2 separate regions of the Homo sapiens genome follow, and region 2 is linked to region 1. Evidence: promoter capture Hi-C in human tissues and cell types (Jung and others, 2019). All regions are on one chromosome and are shown on one strand. The core of a region is centred on a gene start or on the middle of the fragment in contact, and the rest is flanking DNA. Distances in the headings are between cores, read along the strand shown. Region 1 holds the start of LENG9 (leukocyte receptor cluster member 9). Region 2 overlaps SSC5D (scavenger receptor cysteine rich family member with 5 domains).

The links. The method cuts DNA at HindIII sites, captures the fragments that hold promoters and counts their contacts. A contact is called where the count stands out against the background at its distance.
Region 2: a fragment that was not itself captured here is called in contact with the fragment with the promoter of LENG9 in region 1 in 1 of the 25 tissues and cell types used here (pancreas).

Annotation. Positions count from the first base shown.
Region 1 is chr19:54,462,190-54,467,908 of GRCh38, reverse strand. LENG9 (leukocyte receptor cluster member 9) reads left to right here and starts at 4,131. Exons shown (of 1, transcript NM_001301782.2): 1 at 4,131-5,719. The coding sequence starts at 4,383. CDC42EP5 (CDC42 effector protein 5) reads left to right here. Exons shown (of 3, transcript NM_145057.4): 3 at 2,362-2,883. The coding sequence starts at 2,362. The coding sequence ends at 2,808. The HindIII fragment of the contact is 37,347 bases long and covers 1-5,719 here.
Region 2 is chr19:55,511,152-55,516,547 of GRCh38, reverse strand. It overlaps SSC5D (scavenger receptor cysteine rich family member with 5 domains), which reads right to left. Exons shown (of 14, transcript NM_001144950.2): 13 at 3,376-3,537. Among named protein-coding and RNA genes, the nearest start is that of SBK2, 23 kb to the left of the region's middle. The HindIII fragment of the contact is 4,152 bases long and covers 32-4,183 here.

The sequences.
Region 1 (5,719 bases), core at 2,882-5,381:
TCCCTCCCAGAAGTTCCACACAAAACATGCAATGACCAGGATATGGGCAGACTCTGTGGCTGCGTTTCTATTTCATATTGAATTTAGGCCGGGCGTGGTGGCTCATGCCTGTATTCCCAACACTTTGGGAGGCCAAGGCAGGCGGATCACCTGAAGTCATGAGTTTGAGTCCAGCCTGGCCAACATAGTGAAACCTCATCTCTACTAAAAATACAAAAATTTGCAGGGCATGGCAGCGCACACCTGTAATTCCAGCCACTCAGGAGGCTGAGGCAGGAGAATCGCTTGAACCCCAGCCTGGGCAACAGAACAAGACTCCGTCTCAAAAAAAAAAAAAAAAGAATTTGGTGCAGCTATGGGCAATAAAGCACCTAGTTTACAATGCAGATGCTGCCAGCTTCAAATTTATGCAATTCTTCCCATTTTTTTTAACATAGGGCTTTTTATTTTTTTTTTGAGACAGAGTCATACTCTGTCACCCAGGCTGGAATGCAATGGCGCGATCTCAGCTCACCACAACCTCTGCCTCCCAAGTTCAAGCGATTCTCCTGCCTCAGCCTCTCAAGTAGCTGGGATTACAGGCATGCACCACCACAACCAGCTAATTTTGTATTTTTTTTTTAGTAGAGATGGAGTTTCACCATGTTGGTCAGGCTGGTCTCAAAGTCCTGACCTCAGGTGATCCACCCGCTTCAGCCTCCAAAAGTGCTGGGATTACAGGTGTGAGCCACCATGCCTGGCTAGGGAATTTATATTATTATTTTAGAAAACATAAGACATCATATTGTTAGGTTGTAGTCTCAAGATCAGGTACAGTTGGCCAGGCGTGGTGGCTCATGCCTGTAATCCCAGCACTTCGGGAGGCCGAGGCGGGCAGATCACGAGGTCAGGAGTTCAAGACCAGCCTGACCAACATGGTGAAACCCTGTCTCTACTAAAAATACAAAAATTAGCGTCTCAAAAAAAAAAAAAAAAGATCAGGTACAGTTGCCCCTTGGTAGCAGTGATGGGACTGGTTCTGGGACCCCTATGGATACCCAAATATGCAGATGTTTAAGTCTCTTATATAAATGCCCTAGTATTTGCATATAACCTATGTACATCCTCTCCTACACTTTAAATCATCTCTAGATTACTTATAATGCATAATACAATGTAAATGCTTTGCAAATAATTGTTATATTGTTTGAAACTTGTACTCATTTTTTATTACTGTATTTTTTCCCCAGTATTTTTTATCAGCAGTTGATTGAATCTGCTGATGCGGAACCCACAGATACCAAGGACTGTAATTCAAATCATAAAATGCACCCTAGGCAAAGCCCACCTGGGCCTCTTCCTCGTGTGCGTGGTGGGCTCTAGGCAGGATCTGCTTTGCTTAATGGACAGAGTCAGCCCTGTCTTCAGAACAGGAGCCTGGGAATTTCCATTTTTGACAAGCTGGAGTTTTCTTTTTCTTTTTATTGAGACAGGGTTTCACTCCTGTTGCCCAGGCTGGAGTGCAGTGGCCAATACAGTGACACGATCTCGGCTCCCTGCAACCTCCGCCTCCGGGGTTCAAGCGATTCTCCTACTTTAGCTGGGATTACAGGCATGCGCCACCATGCCCCGCTAATTTTTGCATTTTTTATAGAGATGGGGTTTCACCATGTTGCTCAGGCTGGTCTCGAACTCCTGGCCTCAAGCGATCCGCCCGCCTCGGCCTCCCAAGGTGCTGGGATTACAGGAGTGAGCCACCGCACCCGGGCCAACAAGCTGGAGTTTTCTATCAGTCAAGTCTGGGAAGCACTCTGAAGGGTTTGTGAAATATTTGTTACTTGACCTCTAGGAAGGCTCAAGTATTCGCTCTCAGGAGGATCGGCATAGCATGGTGTTCATAGGCATTCTGGAGTCAGGTTAGATCCAAATGTGAGCTCAGCAGCTGTGCCCATGGGACCTCCTGGAGTCTCATCTTACCCCATCTGTGAAACGGGAGGCCGGGCGCGGTGGCTCACGCCTGTTATCCCAGCATTTTGGGAGACTGAGGCGGGTTGATCACCTGAGGTCAGGAGTTCAAGACCAGCCTGGCCAACATTGTGAAACCCCGTCTCTACAAAAATACAAAAATTGGCTGGGTATGGTGGCGGGTGCCTGTAATCCCAGCTACTCGGGAGACTGAGGAGGAAGAATCGCCTGAACCCGGGAGGCGGAGGTTGCGGTGAGCCGGGATGGCGCCATTGAACTCCAGCATGGGCGAGACTCCGTCTCAAAAACAAAAATCAAAAAACAAAAAACGGGAACCGTCCCCCATCGTCCTTTGAGCAGTCGCGTGGCTGCGAGCCCCGGGCTGGGGCCGCGCTGACCCTCCCGTGCCCCTCGCAGATGCCCGTGCTGAAGCAGCTGGGCCCCGCGCAGCCCAAGAAGCGGCCTGATCGCGGCGCCCTGTCCATCTCCGCGCCGCTCGGCGACTTCCGGCACACGCTGCACGTGGGGCGCGGCGGCGACGCCTTCGGGGACACCTCGTTCCTGAGCCGCCACGGCGGCGGGCCGCCCCCCGAGCCCCGGGCGCCCCCCGCGGGGGCCCCGCGCTCCCCGCCGCCGCCCGCCGTCCCGCAGTCCGCAGCGCCCTCGCCTGCCGACCCGCTGCTGTCCTTCCACCTGGATCTGGGGCCCTCCATGCTGGACGCGGTGCTGGGCGTCATGGACGCGGCGCGCCCGGAGGCGGCTGCCGCCAAGCCCGACGCGGAACCCCGCCCCGGGACGCAGCCCCCCCAGGCCCGCTGCCGCCCCAACGCGGACCTCGAGCTGAACGACGTCATCGGCCTCTAGGTTCCCTCATTCCCCGCGCCCTTCCCGCCCGGCACCCCACTTCTGTATACATAAACGGCCAAGGTGTGTGCCCGGGCTCTGACTTTTCACTTTGCACGTGGAAAGGGATGAATGATAGGGTCCTGGCGCCTCTGAGAGCCGGATGTGTCACCCGGAGGCCTGGTCCGGGTCCGATGATTGCCCTGGGGTGGGGGTGCGGCTCCTTTAAGAGAGCCCGAGGGCGTGGCCAGGCGGTGCCCCTTGCAGAGGCGGCGGCTCCCGCAGTCCCATTCGTCAAATACTGTGCGCCACCGCCGGCCGGACGTGGTCCTGGGGCCGGGCCAGACTCAGCCACCGCGGGGCCAGCCGAGGCGGGGCTGCAGAGTGCTGCAGCCCCAGGAGTCTTTCTGGCCCTGAACGCCTCAGGTGGACTCCGACCCGGCGGAGCCGCCGTTTACTCTGGGAGCGGCTGCAGAGGGAAGTGTCTGAGAACACTTTTAGAGCAGTAGGGGCCTGGTCTCCGTGGGGGAAGGGTCCGCAGGCATCTTGGTTCTTTAAGGCCCCCGAGGGATGGGGCCGAACATGCAAATGATTTGGACTGAGGGGCCAGGTTCTCGTAAGTTTCCCAGAGGGGCGGGGCCGCAAATGTAAATCACTTGGACTGAGGGCGGGTCCAGGTTCTTTAAAGACGTCCCCTCATGGGCGGGGCACACAGGTATCACCGGGAAAGGGGCGGGGCACCACATGTAAATCACCGGGAAAGGGATGGGACACAGGTAAATCACCCGGAAAGGGGCGGGGCACCACATGTAAATCACCTTAAAACGGACAGGGCACACATGTAAATCACTTGGGGAGAGGCACACACGTAAATCACCCGGAAAGAGGCAGCACAAAAGTATCACTGGGAAAGGGCCAGGGCACGCATGTAAATCACCCGGAACGGGGCGGGACACATGTAAATCACTTGAGAAGGGGAGAGGCACTCGTAAATCACCCGGAAAGGGGCGGGGCATTACATGTAAATTACCCTGAAAGGAGCGGGGAACATATGTAAATCACTTGGGAAGGGGAGAGGCACACATAAAAAAAAAAAAAAATCACCTAAAAGGGGTGGGGCACTCGTAAATCACCAGGAAAGGGGCGGGGCACCACATGTAAATCACCGGGAACGGGGCGGGGCACTACATGTAAATCACCTAAAGGTCGAGGCACACGTAATCATCCCGAAAGGGGCGGGGCATTACATGTAAATCACCCAGAAAGAGGCAGCACACATCAATCACCGGGAAAGGGGCGGGGCCAGGCTCCCAAGAGCTCCGGGAGACCGAGACTGCCGCAGCCTTTACGCAGCTTGCTTTCCTGGCGCTGGGGGAGGGCGCAGCCGGGAAGTCCCAGAGCAGCGGTGTCAGGCTCTCCACCAAGGAGGGACTGGGCCAGAGTCCTCGCGAGGGCACGCGGCGTGGTCCCCAGAGCTAGGCCGGAGCGCGGGCCGCTGACGCCACTGTCGGGTGAGGCTCGGTGCATCCAAGGGGAGCCGCCCTCCGTGCGGGGCGACCTCGTCTGCGCGGCGGGCGTGCCAGTTCCCCGCACCCATGGCAGCGGCCAGAGAGCCGGAGTTGCCGCAGGAAGCCCCCGCCACGGAACCCGCGCCCCCGCCGGCCTGCCGCTTCTTCCTGGAAGGCCGCTGCCGCTTCGGCGCCCGCTGCCGCCAGCCCCACCCTGGGGCGCCGGCGCCGCCTGGCCGCGAGGCGCAGCCGGAGGCCGGGGCCAAGAAGCCGCCGCTGCGCACAGCCGCGGACGTCATCCAGCGCATCCGCTGGGACCCGCGCCTCGACCCCGCCGACTTCTCGGTGGGCTACGTCGACCGCTTTCTGGGTGTGCGCGAGGAGCCCTTCAGCGCCTTTTGCTGGGACCAGCCGCTGGCGGCGCTCGGGCCGGGCGTGCTGGCAGTGCCCCAGCACCGCGTGCGCTTCTTCCGCTTCCGTGGCCGCCTTGTGTGGGACCGCGCCTCGCGCACCGACCTCGTCTTTGGCTCTGGCTCGGCGGCGGGACGCGGGCCCACCATCCTGGACGCACCGAACACCGAGGGCGCCCACGGGGCAGAGGGTGCCGAGTGGACACTGGCGGGGACAGGTCAGGAGGCCCAGGCTGCCCCCAAGCGAGGGAGCACAAGGCCGCTCTGCACAGGGCACCAGGAACCAGGCGTGGAGGAACCCGGAGAGCTGGAGGCGGCCCAGGAGAGGGCGCTGGGCACAGCTGCTGATTTGGGAACACTGGCCCCAAGAGGACGCCTCGCCGGAGTGACTGAGGCACTGAAGCCAACAGCAGCCACCAGGACCACATTGCTGGGGGGCAAGGAAGCACAGGCCCTGGGAGTCCCGGGGGGCTCCGCTGAGACGACAGAAGCCGAGTGGGGTCCTGCGGCCTGGCCCGAGGACAAAAGGGCCCGCCTTAGTGTTGCAGCCCCTTGCCAACCGCGCCCCACACATTTTGTGGCCCTCATGGTGACCGAGCCTGGGCTACAAGCAGAAGTGACCAAGGCCCAGGAATACCTGGTCCACGTGGCCCCACACTGCGCCAACTTCCTAGTGCCCTCTCAGAACCTACACCTGACCCTGGCCCTGCTGCGACTGGCAGGCGCTGGGGAGGAGGCCGCTGCCATTGGAGCTCTGAGACGGGCCCTCTTGGCCCCGGGGCTAAATGCACCCCCTCGGCTGAGCTTTAGAAAGCTGGTCCTCCTGGGCCCGCATGTGCTGTGTGCCCCACCCTCTCCCACACTGGAAAGCATGGCACAAGTGCTGAGCCAGAGGCTGGAAGCCGAGGGGCTGAGTACACTACAGTCTCCAGGGCAGCTGCACCCCCACCTCACCGTGGCCAAGGTGCCCCATGGTTCCCAGGTCCACCTCCCCAAGCTGGAGTTCACCCTCAG
Region 2 (5,396 bases), core at 858-3,357, 1.1 Mb before region 1:
GCCCAGCGAGGCGGATAGGATCCTGTCTTCAGTGACTTTTTTTTTTTTTTTGAGATGGAGTCTCGCTCTGTCGCCCAGGCTGGAGTGCAGTGGCGTGATCTCGGCTCACTGCAAGCTCCGCCTCCCGGGTTCACACCATTCTCCTGCCTCAGCCTCCCGAGTAGCTGGGACTACAGGCGCCCGCCACCACACCAGGCTAATTTTTTGTATTTTTAGTAGAGACGGGGTTTCACCGTGTTGGCCAGGATGGTCTCGATCTCCTGACCTCGTGATCCGCCCGCCTGGGCCTCCCAAAGTGCTGGGATTACAGGCATGAGCCATCGCGCCCGGCCTTCAGTTACATTTTTGATACCGAGTTCATCATGGGTTTTTTTTTTTTTGGCATTAATTTTCATTTTAAAAAATACTGTATTATGATATTATGTATCTTGATTTTGGCGTTTTGGGCACCCCCTTAAATTTTGGGCCTGAGTAGCAGGAGGAGCCTGACCCTCTTCTGGGGCTGTCTTCCAAGTGAGTGCCAATTTTATCCCCATTTTACAGAAGGGGGAAATTAGGGCAAGAGGGCAGGTGACTCGCCCAAGGTCACACAGACATAGTTTGCAAGTTGCAGGGCTAAGACTTGAACCCAAGTTGTTTGCACATAGAGTCTAGGCAATGAAATCTCACATCTGCAGTGATGGGAATGCGCTGTGATCTACCGTGCCAATACAGTAGCCACTGGCCACATGTGGCTACCAAGCCCTTGAAATGCGGCCAGTGTGAATGAGAAACTAAATGTTTCATTTTCTTTTATTTTATTTTATTTTTTTTTTTGAGACGGAGTCTCACTCTGTCGCCCAGGTTAGAGTGCAGTGGCACGATCTCGCCTCACTGCCAGCTTTGCCTCCCAGGTTCATGCCATTCTCCTGCCTCAGCCTCCCGAGAAGCTGGGACTACAGGCGCTCGCCACCATGTCCTGCTAATTTTTTGTATTTTTAGTAGAGATGGGGTTTCACTGTGTTAGCCAGGACGGTCGCGATCTCCTGACCTCGTGATCCGCCCGCTTCGGCCTCCCAAAGTGCTGGGATTACAGGCGTGGCCACTGCGCCCGGCAAATGTTTCATTTTCAAAGTGTTAATTCATTTAACTTTTTTTTTTTTTTTTTTTTTGAGACGGAGTTTCACTCCTGTTGCCCAGGCTGGAGTGCAGTGGCGCGATCTTGGCTCGCTGCAATCTCCGCCTCCTGGGTTCAAGTGATTCTCCTGTGTCCACTTCCTGAGTAGCTGGGATGACAGGCATGTGCCACCATGCCCAGCTAATTTTTTTGTATTTTTAGTAGAGATGGGGTTTCACTATGTTGTTCAGGCTAGTCTTGAACCCCCGACCTCAGGTGATCTGCCTGCCTCAGCCTCCCAAAGTGCTGGAATTTCAGGCGTGAGCCACCATGCCCGGTGCTCTTAGCTACCGTATTGAACCACACAGATCTACAGATTTCCACTTGTTCCTGCAGGGCAGGGTCTTTCAGGCGCATCCCTTCCCCACCTTGTCCTTTGTTTGCAGGATTGGAGAAGCGGTTAAGTAAAGGGCTTGTGCTCAAGGCAGGCTGTCCGAGTTTAAACCCCAGCTGCATGGCTTCCTAGCGGGGTGACCACGGCCAAGTTACTTCACTGCTTGAATCTCAGTTTCTTCCTCAGCTATAGACTGTGGATGATCCGCGTATCTCCCTTGCAGAGCTGTCAAAAGGACTCAGGGAGACCATGGTTGTGCAAAGCACTTAGTGTAATGTCTAGCATGGAATAAGCACTCTAATAATTATTGATGTCAGAGTCACTGATGTCTGTGCCTCAATTTCACTCATCTGAGAAATGGGCAAAATTATAGATCTACGTCATGGAGCTCATGCAGATTTCCTTCCCTCCTTTCTCCCTTCCTCCCTTCTTCTCTCTCTCTCTTTTTTTTTTTTTTTTAACAGAGTCTTTCTCTGTTGCCCAGGCTGGAGTGCAGTGGTGCGATCTCAGCTCACTGCAACCTCCGCCTCCCAGGTTCAAGCAGTTCTCCTGCCTCAGCCTCCCGAGTAGCTGGGATTACAGGCGCCTGCCACCACACCTATTATTATTATTATTATTATTATTATTATTATTATTATTATTATTATTATTTTGAGACAGAGTCTCACTCTGTTGCCCAGGCTGGAGTGCAGTGGCGCAATCTCGGCTCACTGCAAGCTCTGCCTCCTGGGTTCACGCCATTCTCCTGCCTCAGCCTCCCGAGTAGCTGGGACCATAGGTGCCTACCACCACGCCTGGCTAATTTTTTGTATTGTTAGTAAAGACAGGGTTTCACCGTGTTAGCCAGGATGGTCTCGATCTCCTGACCTCGTGATCTGCCCGCCTCAGCCTCCCAAAGTGCTGGGATTACAGGCGTCAGCCATTGCAGCCAGCCTAATCATGCTTAACTTTACTAAATACTGCTGGATTGTCTTTATCAAACAGCTCTGTCCAGTGGGGTTGCCTGTCTTCCCACATCCTCACTCACACTGGATAATACCCACCTTTCTCATTCTCCTCTGTACTTGCCATTGTTTTAATTTGTATTTTCTGGTTCCTGATGAGCGTGGGCATTTCTAAATACACTCAGCCATTTGGGCTTCCTTTTCTGGGAATCACCTGTTTTCCTCTTTCTCATCTAGGGTTTCCTATCATTTTCCTATTTGTCACAGTGACTTATGCCATCTAGGCTGGGGTTTCTCAACCTCGGTACTATTGTAATTTAGGGCTGGGTGGTTCTTTGTTATGGGGAATGTCGTGTGCATTGTGAATGTTTATCACCACCCCGGCCTCTACCGATCAGGTGCCAATGGGTAGCCTCTCACTTCCTGCCATGACAATCCAAAATATCTTCAGATATTGCCAAATTCCCCTTGGGGGCAAAATCGACCCTAGTTGATGACCAGCGGTCTAGATAATAACCTCTTGGTTCTGTTTTTGTCTTTATTTGAGACAAGGTCTCGCTCTGGCACCCAGGCTGGAATACAGTGGCACAACCACAGCCTCGAGCACCCAGGCTCAAGGGATCCTCCTGCCTCAGCCTCCCAAGCAGCTGGGACCACACGTGCGTACCACCACACCCAGCTAATGTTCATATCTTGGGGGGCTCACCATGTTGCCCAGGCTGCTCTCAAACTCCCGAGCTTAAGCAATCCTCCCAACTCGGCCTCCCAAAGTGCTGTGATTACAGGCATGAGCCACCATGCTCAGCCGATAACCCTTTGTTTTAGGGTATATTTCTGCTGAGTCTTTCTGGGGTAAGGGTTCCAGTGGGGAGTCTGGAATCTGTCTCTTTACCCCAGGACAAATACCGTCCCAGTCTCCTCACCCCAGCCACGTGTCTCACCTGTGTCTCCATGGACTCTCAGAGTTGGAGGACTGCCTGGGCTCCTGGTGGTGCCAGCCCCAAGAGTTGGTCCTAGTTTGCCTGCGGTAGGGGTCCCCTCAGCCAGGCCCCTTCCTGATGGTGTGTCCCACGTCCAGGGAAGCTTGTAACCATCTTTGCTGCCTAGAGAGATATGGGGAAGAGGATTGAGTCTTCCAACTTCCCTTTGAGTTTGACTCCCCGTCTCTCTCCTCCTGGGCCAGCCCCAGTTCAGGCATCATCCCGTCTCAACTGCACCGCCACTGCAGCCCTACCTGACCTCGTGGAGACCTTCTCCATTCAGCTGGGATGTTTTTGGCTACCAACGACGGAAACGGTCACTAAACTAGCACATAAAATGAAGGGCATTTGGGCCTGGCGCCGTGGCTCAAGCTTGTAATCCCAGCACTTTGGGAGGCTGAGGCAGGCAGATCACTTGAGGTCAGGAGCTCAAGACCAGCCTGGCCAACATGGAGAAACCCCATCTGCACTAAATATACAAAAAATTAGCTGGGTATGGTGGCACACGCCTATAATCCCAGCTACTCGGGAGGCTGAGACAGGAGAATCACTTGAACCTGGGAGACAGAGGTTGCAGTGAGCCAAGACTGTGCCACTGCACTCCTGCCTGGGTGACAGAGCGAGACACCGCCTCAAAAAAAAAAAAAAAGGAATTTATTATTTTAATTCCTCAAGGCTCCTGCCCTAGCGGGGGAAAAACCATAACATCTTTATTAATTCACTGCCTGGAACATCTCTATAATACTATTTTTCCTTTTTTTTTTTTTTGGCCAAATGCACTTAATCTCTATATAATAGCAATTTTATATAACATATAAATGTATAATATATATACATATATGTATGCCATTTTATTTAGGGAGAATAGAATGATAATTCAGTCCTAGCTTTATACAAACAACAGCTTTCTTTTCTTTTCTTTTTTTTTTTTTTTGAGACCAAGTCTCACTCTGCCACCCAGGATGGAGTACAGTGGCGCAATATCGGCTCACTGCAAGCTCTGCCTCCCGGGGTCAAGTGATTCTCCTGCCTCAGCCTCCCAAAGTGAGCTACAGGTGTGAGCCACCGTGCCCGGCCTCAACAACAGCTTCCTTGAGATACAGGTCACGTATCATGCAATTCATCAGCTTGAAATTGCAACTGAGGGGGTTTACCCACTCACAAGCTTGCGTGACCATCGCCACAATCAAAATTGAGAACACTTTCATCACCCGAACAAAACACTCCATACTCATTGCCTATCCGAATCATCAAACCAACTTCCCCTGAGACCCTGGCCCCCCACACTGATCCTGGAGGCCTCTTAAAAACTGGCAGACACCTGCCCCTTTCCACCCTAAACCCTTCCATGAGTCCCCACGGCCCACAGACACCATCTTCCTTCATAACCAGCCCCTGCCAGCTTCTCCAGCATCGTCTCGTCCTACACGATGCTCTGCTCACGCTGGACCCTGACCTTGAGTTAGGAGGGCAGGTTTGCAGTGTTTAGGGAGACATGCCTGCTTCCACAAGCAATTCCACAAGGAGGTGCTGAGAAATCCTTACCCATGAGCCCAGGGATTCATGGGTACAAGGAGTTCATAGCAGCCATATTTGTGACAGCAAAACACTGGGAACAACCACAACGCGCAGGCTTTTCACACCTCCCAGCCTCTGCCCACGCTGCCGCCCCCACCCCGAATTCCCTTCCTCTTCATTTCCTACCCAACTGAGCCCGTTAGGATGTTTTCTCATTCCAAACGCAAAACCAGGCAGAAGGGCAGTGTCCAAGACCTTGGGCAAGTTGACCGATGTCGCCTTAAGCTCTGTGGCTAGTGGTCCCAATTACAGAAATCCCTTGCTCCGTTACCTGCTAAGACACTGCACGCTGATAGAACAAGGGTCAAATTTCACCCTGATGCCAGGCACAGCAGACACCTCCGTCATGCCTTCGTATTATTAACCATTCTTAATCAAATACCTTTCCATTTCTATTAGACACC